2 separate regions of the Homo sapiens genome follow, and region 1 is linked to region 2. Evidence: promoter capture Hi-C in 16 types of primary human blood cells and fetal thymus (Javierre and others, 2016). All regions are on one chromosome and are shown on one strand. The core of a region is centred on a gene start or on the middle of the fragment in contact, and the rest is flanking DNA. Distances in the headings are between cores, read along the strand shown.

Region 1 (6,200 bases), core at 346-2,845, 520 kb after region 2:
AGTTGTTCTCATTATATCTTGTCTGAGCATCAGTGTGATTAAAGCAATTGATTTTTCCTTTATCATTTCATCTTTTTATCCTTCATCAGTAACCTCTTATAATCTTTATTCACTGCTATAAACAAAGACAATGTCTTGACTTCATAAAACCGATACCTTTTTTCCTTGGTTTTATTTTAGAGCTAGTTTTGGCCCATGATGAATTGCTGAATGGTTGATTTCCTGACACTCCTTTTTGCTAACCTTTCTTGACAGCTTCTGGATTGCTCTACCTAGTAATTTGTTCCACAATAATGGCTACTGTGAGATGTCTCCTATTTCCTTTATTTTTAACAAGGATTCTTAACACCCTCTGTAGGTAACAATATGCAATTACAGATATAAAGTGTTCCCCAGGGGATGGCTGCTCACAGATGCCACTAAGAATTTTGTAATGCAACTGTTAAAGATAATGAAAACAAAGAATCAGATTATCCAAACATCCAGTTCAAATCAAATTTTAATTAAAAGTTATGAAGGCATTTTATTGATTAACAATTTTAGTAATTAAAGAGTGTGGTTGACATTTTTTTTTCCAGTTAGATTTGTTCTTCCTTTGAGATTTCTAATTGTTGTATGGTTTTACATTTATTGATAACTCTGTTTGATGAATGCAGATGCCACCTTTTACGGCCATCGTTGACAGAGTAATCATATTGTGAGAAACACCAGGCTTATGTAGTAACAGCTGTTGCAGTTATCCATGCTGACATCCATCGGGGAAATGTGTTTGCTGCTATCATGGGTACACGATAAATGGAAGGTGCAATAAAAGCACAAGCTAACATTTTGAATATCCTTACAACTCTGGGAACTTTATTGCATATTACAAGCACTTTGATCTCTGTCCAGTACTTAAGTCTTAATTATCAGACTAATTGCACAGACTATGTTCATTTTCAGTGGTAATCCTTTTGTGATTAGCTTCTGTGTTCAATAACTGACTTATCTTTTAATTAAAAGGACTGTTAACCTTAAGGCTGCTGCTGTGTCTTGGGATTAACCCATACAGAGTTAATGTTTAATATCATTGTAAAAGCTTTTGCTGAAAGGTGTAGCATAAAAATGTGTAGAGGGAAAGCCATGAAATGTATCTCACTTTTCTGATGTGCAGAAAAGCCCTGCTAAAGATGAGAGTTTTAACAAATCCTCCTTGTAGATTAAATTTCCGAAGGGCCTACCTAACTGTGCGTGGCCACTGGATTAACCCTTTGAACCCTATTCTCATTTACAGAAAGGGAGCACTTAACTTCAGGATAAGGCACAGTTTTTTCTCAATTTTTGAAATCATTATATGTGTACGTGATCAGGGTGCTTAGCTGCTGGGAGTCCAGAATAGAGAATTTCTTTTTCTTTCTTTCTTTCTTTTTATCCCTACAGCTGAAAGTTTTTTGATATTGATTTCTTTGGAAAGGTTCACAGCAGCTTGAAAATAGACATAACAGTGGCACCTTTTTCCATGTTCCAAGCAATGTGTGATCAAAGTGAGTAAAACAGTTCACAGGTAACTAGTGAAACGATTAAGGAGCAGATGCAGGGATAATCAGTACCAAAGTGTGGAGAGCTTGCCAAAAAGCCAGATGCAGCTGCTGAAAACACTCTGTTTCTTCTTCACTTTGGCATCTGGGTTCTACAATGAACATTTTTCCCCAGTGTGCCCAATGACACAGGGTCTATTGCTGTGCCGGTCACTTAGGATGAAGGAGAAAAATGGTTTCTCCACTTCCTCCTTCTCTTGCTCATATCCCTGCCTCCCAGAGGTACAGGCCCTTCATTGATTTCTAACCCCGGATGTCTTCACATGTAAGATGCAGGCCTCTGGGACTAAGGAGCTGCAGGGATGCCTCTATTCTAAAGCTCCTAGGCCAGCAAGTGACCCAGTAGATGCTATTCTGTCTCTGTCCTCTTCCAAATTTTACTTCTTCTATCAGTAATGCAAAAGACTAGCCTGACAAGAATTTTCCTTCAATAGTGCATGTTTTTAAGGAATTTGGTGATAACATGAACTATTTACCAAATAAGCAGTGTATTCTTGCACTCTGTGATGAAGTAGGCAGTGAGAACCTGCCCTCTTGAAGCTTAGAGTCTAGCTAGTAGGATAGTAACTGCTTCCAACACGCTACACTCATTGCTAGGGAGGGTAGCATAGCAAAGGGATTGATCATACCTGAATAGATTGTTTTCTTCCTAGGTTTAGAATTCACTGGCTATTTTGTTCTTAATAATGAATAGGGAGTTTGCATGTGATGAGTAGGGCTTGTATAATTTTATCAATGTTAGTAGGGAGAAAGTCTACCCAGGTGGTTTAGCGCATCAGCTCTGGAGCTAGATACCAATTCAATCCCAGCTCCATCAATTACCAGCTGTGTGACCATGGACAAGTTACTCCTTTATGGAATTTTGGATTCCTCAATTATAGAATGGGGATAATACTAGTGTTGTTGTAAAAAATGAATGAGATGGCATATGTGAACATTTAGCACAATATCTGATGCATAGTGTTTAATAAATGGTGGCTATCACTATCCAAATTTAACTATACCTTGATACAGCAACTGGTAGCTACAAAATGAGTAGAAGTGTATTACATACAATAATTGTGATGATAATACTTGCTTATAATTCTGCCCTACAGATCTCTATTGATCTTGACAGGATTATCATGAAATAGGCTACTTGACTAATGAGGAAACTGAGGCTTGGGGTAGATACGTGGCTCGCTCAGGTTCACATGTTGGAAATGCGGGACTTAGAACTCAAACTAGAGTCTCCAAGCACTTCATTGCTAGAAATTCTGTTAAAAGAAGAGGGAGCCACATGGTTCAGGAGGTTTCATTCTTTTTCAGGTTTTCTTGCTAACTCACAGCCCAATGACTTATCTCCTTTTCTCTCAAGGCATTAAACTTTTCCTAAATAAAGTAACTTAAGTGTATTTATTAATTACATATTGACTATATAAAATCATGGTAATTTATTGTAATTAAAGAATGCATTTATATTTCTAAGGTTCAAAAATCTATCCTGCTGCCAGTATGCATTTCCAAATATATTTCAAAAGAGTTTGCAAATGAATCTGCATTTAGTAGAGAAATTCTAATTATGCATTTAATTCTTACAGCAAATCTACATTAATTATATGAGATTAACTTATATCAATTAAAATTTATCAAAGCTCAAACTGTCTTGGAAGGAAGTGACACATGAAAAATTGTGTTATTTGTAATATTACATGGTTATGTATTATGTTGTTTTAAAAACAGAGCTAGAATGCTATGATCCATATTCTTCTATTGTTAAGGAGCACATGTGAAGGAGTTTTTTAAATAAAAAAAGCTTAGTCCTTTTTATTTAAAAACTTTAATATCCCATTTCATCTAAAACGTTCCGCTTCCCTCCATACAGACTAGCCTTGGGACTCGAATAGCTTGGACTAAGTGTGTTATTGAACTGTAGATCATGTTTTCATAAAAGAAAAGTGGCCCAGCATAACACTGGGTAGAAACGAACATGTCTAAGACAACATCCTAAGGTAATTTATTAGCCCTAACAATTTCAGAGTTGGGAGTAGGAGGTTGAAATATATTGACACACATATATAGGAAAATGGCTGGAAGTTTTAAGAATAGATTCTACAAGCTAAATATATGTCTACACTTCAATTTCTGCTTACAATCTTAAGTAAAGATGAAGATACTATGATATATTTTAAAAGTAAGTTGCAGTTGCCACAATAAACAGCCAACCTCTAATAGTACAGGACGCGAATAGCCATATTAGAGAAAACCTGCCTAAAAGTGGCTATATTTTAAAAGGTTGTATTCTATGTGTGGCTCAAAGGTTTTTTTTCTTGTATGTGTGTGTGTAGAGGGTAGTCTCTCTACTATCTTTCTTAGTGTTTGAATCACACATCTTATTTATGTGGTGTGATTGAGGAATTTCAACTCATTCAGCTATAAACTGCCATCACAGAGCTCTGTACTGCAACCACTGCTGTCATGGGCTCTTGCTATTTCCTGCATAGGAGCTGCCTTGATAATGGCTCCCTCTGATTCTCAACCTTTTCAGTCACCTTTATTATAATTAGTAAAGTGGTCTCATTTTTGTTATTAAAACTTAGTCCTTTTTACTTAAAAATTTTAACATCTCATTTGATGTAAAACATTCCTCTTCCATCCATACAGACTGGCCTTGGGACTCAAACAGCTTGGAGTGACTCTGTGTGTGTGTGTGTGTGTTGCACGGTTAGCTCTGTCACATACCACTTTGTCTCTTTCTTGCTCTTATTCCTCTGGTGTAGGGGCAAGGAGGAACAAAAGAACAAAATCATGTCCTTGTAACTCTGGCGCTCAAGGTGTCTTGTCAGTTGTACTTGCTGTTTCCATCGAAGCACATCCCACATTTGACCCCTTTCTTATCACTGTTGCTCCTTCTCTGTGATGGATCAACCGTCCAAATGCTGGTCTCTTGTGTGGCTGTTAGGGGGTGCTTTGATGAGTTCTTCTGAGGGCTGAAAGGTGCCTTCACCTGAAGAGTCCTCTGTAAGAGTCTGAGAGCCCCCTTAGGCTTGGCCTCTTGCTTTGTCCCTCAGCCCTTGTCCCAGACTGTCCTCTCAGTGGATGGTCTTCCTTTATCCTTTCAGCAGGACATCAGATGTCCTTGAGAACATCCAGAATTACTGACTGGCAGCATCGGGATGTTCCAAGCCTGTTCTGATTTTTCCCTGCCTCAAAACATGGAACCATCTATCCTCCAAGTAGTTCTGATTCTTTCTAATAAAGAACAGTATCGGAGACTAAAGTCTGAGTACTCTGGGATGCTCCAAGTCTGTTCTGATTTTTCCCTGCCTCAAAACTTGAGAGTTGAGCAAAGATGCTGCGGCTTCTCTCGGGACATCTTTAGTGGTAGAGCTGGAAAAATGTTTCTTTTTAAAGGAATTCTAACTTATTTCTAAACTTTGTTTTAATATAAATAATTTCATTTTCTCTATCACATTCTTACTTTACATGTTAACTTTTCAACTAAACTGTAATTCTGTCTTTTAAAAAAAAATTCTTACAGTCTCAATACTCCAATACTCATCATTTTGTAATCACTTTATTGATACGAAGGAGGATATTCTAAAACTTTTTATTTATTTATTTATTTTTTGTGATGGAGTCTCACTCTGTCACCAGGCTGGAGTGCAGTGGCACGATCTCAGCTCACTGCAATCTCTGCCTCCTGGGTTCAAGCAATTCTCCTGCCTCAGCCTCCCGAGTAGCTGGGATTACAGGCATGCACCACCACACCCAGCTAATTTTTATATTTTTAATAGAGATGGGGTATTACCATGTTGGCCAGGACGGTGTTGATTTCCTGACCTCGTGTTCTGCCCGCCTCTGCCTCCCAAAGTGCTGGGATTACAGGCGTGAGTCACCATGCCTGGCCTAAAACGTAAGAGGGAATAATACAGTAACATGTAAATATGTAATAAATATATAATGTATACTAAATGTAGAAATATGTAGTAAGTATTTCATGTTAAAACTATTTATTTGTGGACTTAAGCAGAAAACAGCCAGATAATGGAGAGTTCTAATGAACTTCCTTGATCCTTAAATAAAGATTTCTTATTGCTACAGACACAAATAACGAGGAATTTTCATTGTAAGTTCATTTTATTTTTGTTGGCTGCTGATGGACAGACTGAAGGTCTACTTCTCATCTTTTCAGTCCTCTTTTGGCATTAATGAGGCTCCACAAATAGAAGAATTTCAAATGGCCATAGCCACGGTCAGCCTTTGGCAAGGTTTAGATGGAATTAAGTCTCAATGAATACTGCCTAACAGTGGCAGAGCCTACTTATTTCTATGCTTCTATAATGTTTTTTAGCTTGTACATTTCTCCTGCCATTACCTTACTTCGACGTTTGTTACCTCTACCTCAATTTTTGCAATCGTTTTCCTGTTCAGATGTGCCAGTTTTCTTTTTGACTATGACTAGTTAAAATTTATCCATCTGTTTAAGGGTTTTATAAAATTGCAATGATTATATTCATTTCCAGGATTTCTGAATCTTCTTTTAAATATCCCTGCACTTGATTCAGAGCTGCCTGCTTTATTTTATAACCTACTGTTGTTTTAAAAGAAAATATATCTGAGGATCTCACAAATGTTCTTTTA
Region 2 (6,053 bases), core at 1,251-3,750:
AGCAGAGGGCAGAGCAGATGGTCAGCATTATGTAGCAGGAGAACTATGCAGACCAACCCTATGGCCCACTAAGAGGAAGGGGAGGATGACAGAAGCAGACATAATCAGCATTTCAGAGACAGTCACCTCCTCCTTTCCCACCCTAGCCAATAACAAGGTGCCTGTTCCTTCCATAAGGAATTTCTAAGGAAGGAGGGCTTCATTTCTTAGATTGGTTCACTGGTATTCTTTTCTTTTTTCCTCCCCAGCACAGGGTAGAGTGATAGAAAACTCACAGGGCTCAAAGTCAGAACTCTATGATTCTCTTCCCAACTCCCATATGGCCTGGAGAGTTGGATTAGTTCTTCATGGATTCAACGAATCACAGTAAATACTTTTGTAAAAAGGTAGGGTGTAAATAAACAAATATGCAAATAAAAAATTAAATAATGTCAAATTCCCCTTTTTAGCAAGATTATATTTGTAATCTTTATTCAGATGATGGTAACATTAATTTATTCATGAAATATTTGTTGAGCATTTACTGTAAGCAAAGCATTGTTTTGGGAGCTTCGAGATATTCAAAACTGAATCCTTCTTCCTACCCTCATGGAGATTGACATTTGTCATTTACGTAAATAACTGTGAACAAGTTGGAAAGTGATATGCCGTAAGAAAGACGGCAATGAAGTGCTTGAGATTCCAGAGGCAAAGAAAAGAAAAAGTTGAAATGAAAAGTGCTGTATAAATAGAACAGAGATCACGCTGTGTTAAGCTAACACAGGAAAAGAGTCCCTGATATAAATGACAATTTTGTCTACAAAGGACTGATTCTAAGAAGGGAAACTCAACCACAGTTTCAAAGTGTTCCTTTTGTACCACACTGGTTCCATTTGTATTTGTATGTAGGAAATAGCTCCCTGGGCTGGGCAAAAGAAATTTTGAACTGTTACTAGTCCCATGGATCATTATTATCTTAACCTGATTCTGTATCTCTTGCTACCTTTGGCTAGTTCAGGCTGTGTTTTCTGACTGTGCATGTAATAAACCAAGTCTCCAACTGACCACATTCCAAAATGTATAAATTAAGTGACCTTGGGCAGGTCAGCTTTAGTTTCCTTGTAATAAAAAATTGAGGATGTTGGACTGCCTGATCTAGCTCTAAATTTCTATAAAACACCCATGGAAATCAATGCCAGCAAACTCGAGATTTGACCTAAATACATATCACATACTTCTTTAATAGCTAATCATGCATTTTTGGTTAGCAATAACCAAAATCCTAAGAGATCTCTTAAGGATGTTTACATTAAAGCATATCATTTAAGAATTTTCCTGTGACTGTGGTTTTGCGTGCACGCATGTGTGTGCACGCGCGCGCACACACACACACACACACACACACACATCAGGCCAGCTTTGGCTGGACAGAGTCCAAATCCCACATGATATAATTTATCTGAGTTTAGGCTCTTTCACTCAACTCTGATATTGAAAAAAATTAATAATAAAGCTTTTTGCCTCTTGACCAGAAGGCCTGTGTTTTTCAGAGCAATATTGGAAATGAAAAATCACAGGATGTCAGCCACCTTGTTTCTCAGTTGGGATGATATCACCAGTAAACTTTTATGTGAAGCAATCAGCAAACATCTCCTGTTTCCCTCTAGCGGAAGTCTGGGATTCAGGATGGTGTTTCAGCTGCTGTGTTAGGACACATTCCAGAGTAGAATGCAGGTCAAATGCTGTGCAAGGTTTTATAGTTTCAATTCAAACCCAAACCTATATATAGTAACATCTTAAAAAAAAAAAGTAGGTAGGAATGTATTCATATGGAATTTTTTTTAACTTCAGAAATTTTGAAAAAATTAAAAAATATTTGTCTCTGTGGAGAGAGTTTAGTTATGATTATTAACTGGTTTCTATCTCCAGCACATGTAGCTGTCAATCAGTCCTCTTTATTATTAGAATTCTCCTGGAGCAGTAAAGGGACTTGTTAACTCCATTGTATGTGATTATAAGGCACTGTTCTAAGTATCCATAGTTGTTTAAATATGAACCCCCGGACACTACCATGATCCACAAGTGGTCCAGGTCCTACAAATGGTGCCGAGTGTTCAGAGGGATGAGTCGGCTGCCAGGCATGATGGAGGGAGAGACATGCGTGTCTATCTTGAAGTCTTTGACCAGGCAGTTTCTATTTTAATTAGATAAGGCAAACTAAAAATCTTTATCCAAAAACTCAATCAAGCTAACATCAGGAAGAAACTGACAGAGCAGCCCCTGGTTGGGGAGGCTCTGCCATTCTGTGGTCTCATCAAAGAAGCAAGACTTTGATTTGGGGGCCTCCAGCACTTTAGCCTCAAAGGAGAGCCCTCTCCCCACCCCTGACCCCAGCACTTACCTGAGCAAAGGCTAAAGAGCAGGAGGAGAGGCCAGGGCTCCATGGGCTACCGGAGCTTGTGTGGACCAGGGCAGAGTGGTGGCCTGTGCTTCTCACTGGCACTCTGGCTGGGTGCTTGTCTGCTGGAGGGTTTGGAAAGCGAGTCGGCTCACTAGAGCTATTGTTTTACACCACCTGTTTGTGGGAGCGACAGCTGGGCTGCCCTCAGCCCTGGAGCCCAGGGAGTTACTGGGACTGTACACCATTACAGATATGCCTCACTTTACACAATTGCTTACCCTTGACAAGCTGAGTATGAACTGCATTATATTTTAAATGCACCAGTAGTCAGATCTTAATGAAAAAAAAATGTATAGGAAGGAAGGAATTATTTTAAATGGTGAGCAAACTGCCTCTCTTTTGTGTAAACCAGAACCTCATCTCTGTGGGTTGACTTGATTAGGGTCATTTGGTCTGAGTAGATAGTCAGCTGTTTGTCCTAAACCACAAAAATCCACATTCTGCAAACATGGCTTCAGTTTCATTTCCTCTGCTTCAGTGTTAGGCTGAGGGTGCCGGGGGCTTTTCTGACTGCCTGGATTTCAGAAAAGTGTAGCTGGTGTTGAGTCTGCTGCTGGGAAGCCCCCACGTTGATTGGGTTTGGTTTTTAACAAAGACAGCTTCTTCCATAAAACTGGCTTTACTGGCCCCCAGAGTGGCTGTTCCAACCCCTGCCTCTGTATCAGGCAATACCTATCCCACACGAACCATTAGCTGGAGCAAATTGCCCACGTCCTATGCACTGTGATTCAAGCGAAGAGTAATTATTGGGAAAAAGTGTCCCACCGCATCAGCAGTCGTTCCGGGTTCCTGCCTCCTTCCATCCGTCCCTCTGCCTACTCTCACTCAGGGAAGCAAAGAGCAGAGTGGTTCAGCTTTTCAATTATCTTGCTTGAAAAACATCCTAAAAACCAGCAGTTAGTAATTTCTCAGTCTGAGAAGTATTGTTACCCTAGCTGTGCTTCTTTGCAGGGTGTGAGGTGAGTTCCCAGAAGGAGACAGTTACTTAAAGGTACCCTGCCTGTTCCTTCCAGGCCTCCTTCCCACATGGAACTAGGTGAGAAAGGTCCTCTCACCTCAAGCCCACAACAACATCCTGACAGATCCTCTCATTCCAGTGGATCCAAACAAATCATTAGAGAAGGGGCTTGGAGGGTAGAGGAGAGAGCTGCAAGCTCATACTATTTATATTTTTTGTTTAAACTGTGGGAGATCAGTTAACTGTTTGCTAAAAAAAAATTTGGTTCTCTCCCTTCCATGGAATAGCCCCGTGGCAGAAATACAACCCCCACCCTCTGACCAGCCCCTTCCATCTAAATGGAGCCATGGGACTGACCTCTGGCCAGTGGCATGAGTGGAAAAATGTTCTCAGACTCACAAACCTACCAGAGCTCAGCCCCGCCCTTCTAGTCTTCTGACCGGCTAGAATGGACATGGTCCCAAAGTTAACCTTAGAAACCATGTTCTGAAGGTGGTGTTGCTTTTGACATTCTGAATCCTTGAATGACTGCATGGAGGGGGACCCCCTATCCACCTGCTCACCACCCAGCACTATTTCAATGAAAACAAAACATGCATCGTGCTGAGCCATCAAAATCCTTGGGTTTATTTGTACAGCAGCTAGTGTTCCGTAATTAATAAAATATGTAATCCTTTGCACTAGTATCCTGAGGTTAAAAATAAATTCTAAAATATGTAGCACTGCAGCAGAAGGCAAGAAAATTGATACTGGAGGCTGAAAATATGAAGACCCATGTTATATGGTATCAAATCATTTCATAAACTGTTGTCCTCAATTACTTGGTGAACAATGTGTCTACTGAGCCTGTAGCTCCCAGAATAGAGGCTGGTAAACCCAAAGTTAGTGCACCATGGCTCTTTCTGGCTTTGTTTAGCAAGTCAGTACAAGGAAGAGCTGAGCTCAGGCAAAAATGTGCTGGTTCAAGAGCAGAAATGAAAAGAAATAGAATGAGTCCAGAAATGTGGAGTCTTCTGTTTTGAACTTCAAAAGAGTAAGTGAAAACATGGAATAAAGGCTTTGAGCAACCAAAGCCCGTTAAGACTTCTCTTTAAACAGGCAGTTTCATCACCACAGCAAAGATCACTTTAAGGGTGCTTTCTTCACAGCCAAATCTATTTTTTTTTTCAGATGGCTTCAAGATGGCTGCTATTAAGTTGAAGGAGAGAGGTATAGTGGTTAGGATGCAAAGAAATTAATCAGATTAAAGAATTGTGACCATGTGTGTATATAGGCACATGGGAATGATGGAAACAAATATTGCAGAAGCTTACTCAGTATTTGAAGGAATTATATTGCCAAAGAGTTCATTAACCCAGGCTACAAAAGTTTTGGTTGTTCAAGGCTTAAAGCAGTCCTTGAGTTCCCAAACACACACGGCCAGAAAGCAGGCTCCAAGATCTGCACAGTCTTCCAAAAAGGGTGCTTTCTCCATCCCCTCCTTCAATTGTGGCCGTGAGGGAAAGTGGGCAAGGAAGAACCTCCCCGGGGCATAGCCAGGAACCTCAAACAGCAACGGACAAGGGAGTTCCACCCACAGAGCAGAATCGGGTCGAATCGAGGAATCTGTTGAGACCTTCTCTGTGCCTACCCTGGCTTTCTGCTTACTGCCAATGCCTGCAACCCTGTAACCGAGGGATTTTTTTTTCTTTTTTTTTGGCCATGGGAACACATGAAACAAGCCTGAGATGCTAAAGTGTTACTGCCTCCAGAAACAGGCCTCAACCAATGTTGGAGGATAAATATCCCCGCCCCATCTCCCCTTGGACTGGGTAACCCCCAAGCGTGCCCTACACTCTATGTCTGTGGGAGTGAGTTCCTGTTGCCCATGATGGAAATGGCTCAATAACCCTCCCTTTATTGGCTTCCTCTCCTTCTCTGTCTCTTCTCCCCAATCTGCCACCTCTCAAGTCAACTCAATACAGGGTCAGGGGGACCTCAACTCAAGACAGAATTTCTCCCACTGCCTGGCATGGGGTCTTCACAGTGATATCATTGGAGGCTTTCCCCCTTTATTGCCACAGTTTAAACAAACTGTGATCTCCCACAATTTAAACAAAAAAATCTCTTCTAAAGGTGAACAGTTGAAACCATAGACTAAAAAAAATTACTAAAACTACTATTAATATTATCCTCAGGAGTAAACTGTTTTTTTCATTTAAAAGTTTATTATTCAAGTAATTTGAATTTATTTTAGAGAAATTAGAGAACAGATGAATGAAAAGACCTGCTATCCTTCTACCCAGAATATTTATTTTGATGTTTTAGTTTGTGTCTGTTCAGACCCTGTTTCCATGCATTCCATTCATTCATTCACTAAAAATTTTTTCACTGGGTTTTGCTATGTGCCAAGCAGTGTTCTAGGCATTTGGAATACATCAATAAACACAGCAGACAAAGATTCCTGGTTCTCAGGAAAAATGCATTCTAATTGGAGGAGATGGATGATTAAAAAAATATATATTTTTTACAATTTATTTTTATATATATTACATATGTTATATATTACATAAATAAGATATATATCCTTTTAACAATTTATTTTTATATCATATGTTATATAATATATGGTTATATATTATATATATACATATATGTTTGACTGTATATGTTTAC

Evidence for each region. Contacts are between HindIII fragments. The CHiCAGO score rates a contact against its expected background, and 5 or more counts as called.
Region 1: a contact is called between a fragment that was not itself captured here and the fragment with the promoter of CHRNA1 in region 2, in 1 of 17 cell types (M2 macrophages). The highest score is 5.0, in M2 macrophages.

Annotation. Positions count from the first base shown.
Region 1 is chr2:175,282,184-175,288,383 of GRCh38, forward strand. No RefSeq gene overlaps it. Among named protein-coding and RNA genes, the nearest start is that of ATP5MC3, 100 kb to the left of the region's middle. The HindIII fragment of the contact is 1,039 bases long and covers 1,077-2,115 here.
Region 2 is chr2:174,761,972-174,768,024 of GRCh38, forward strand. CHRNA1 (cholinergic receptor nicotinic alpha 1 subunit) reads right to left here and starts at 2,501. Exons shown (of 9, transcript NM_000079.4): 1 at 2,381-2,501. The coding sequence starts at 2,423. RefSeq lists a silencer at 1-204 and an enhancer at 2,502-3,001. The HindIII fragment of the contact is 3,214 bases long and covers 1,491-4,704 here.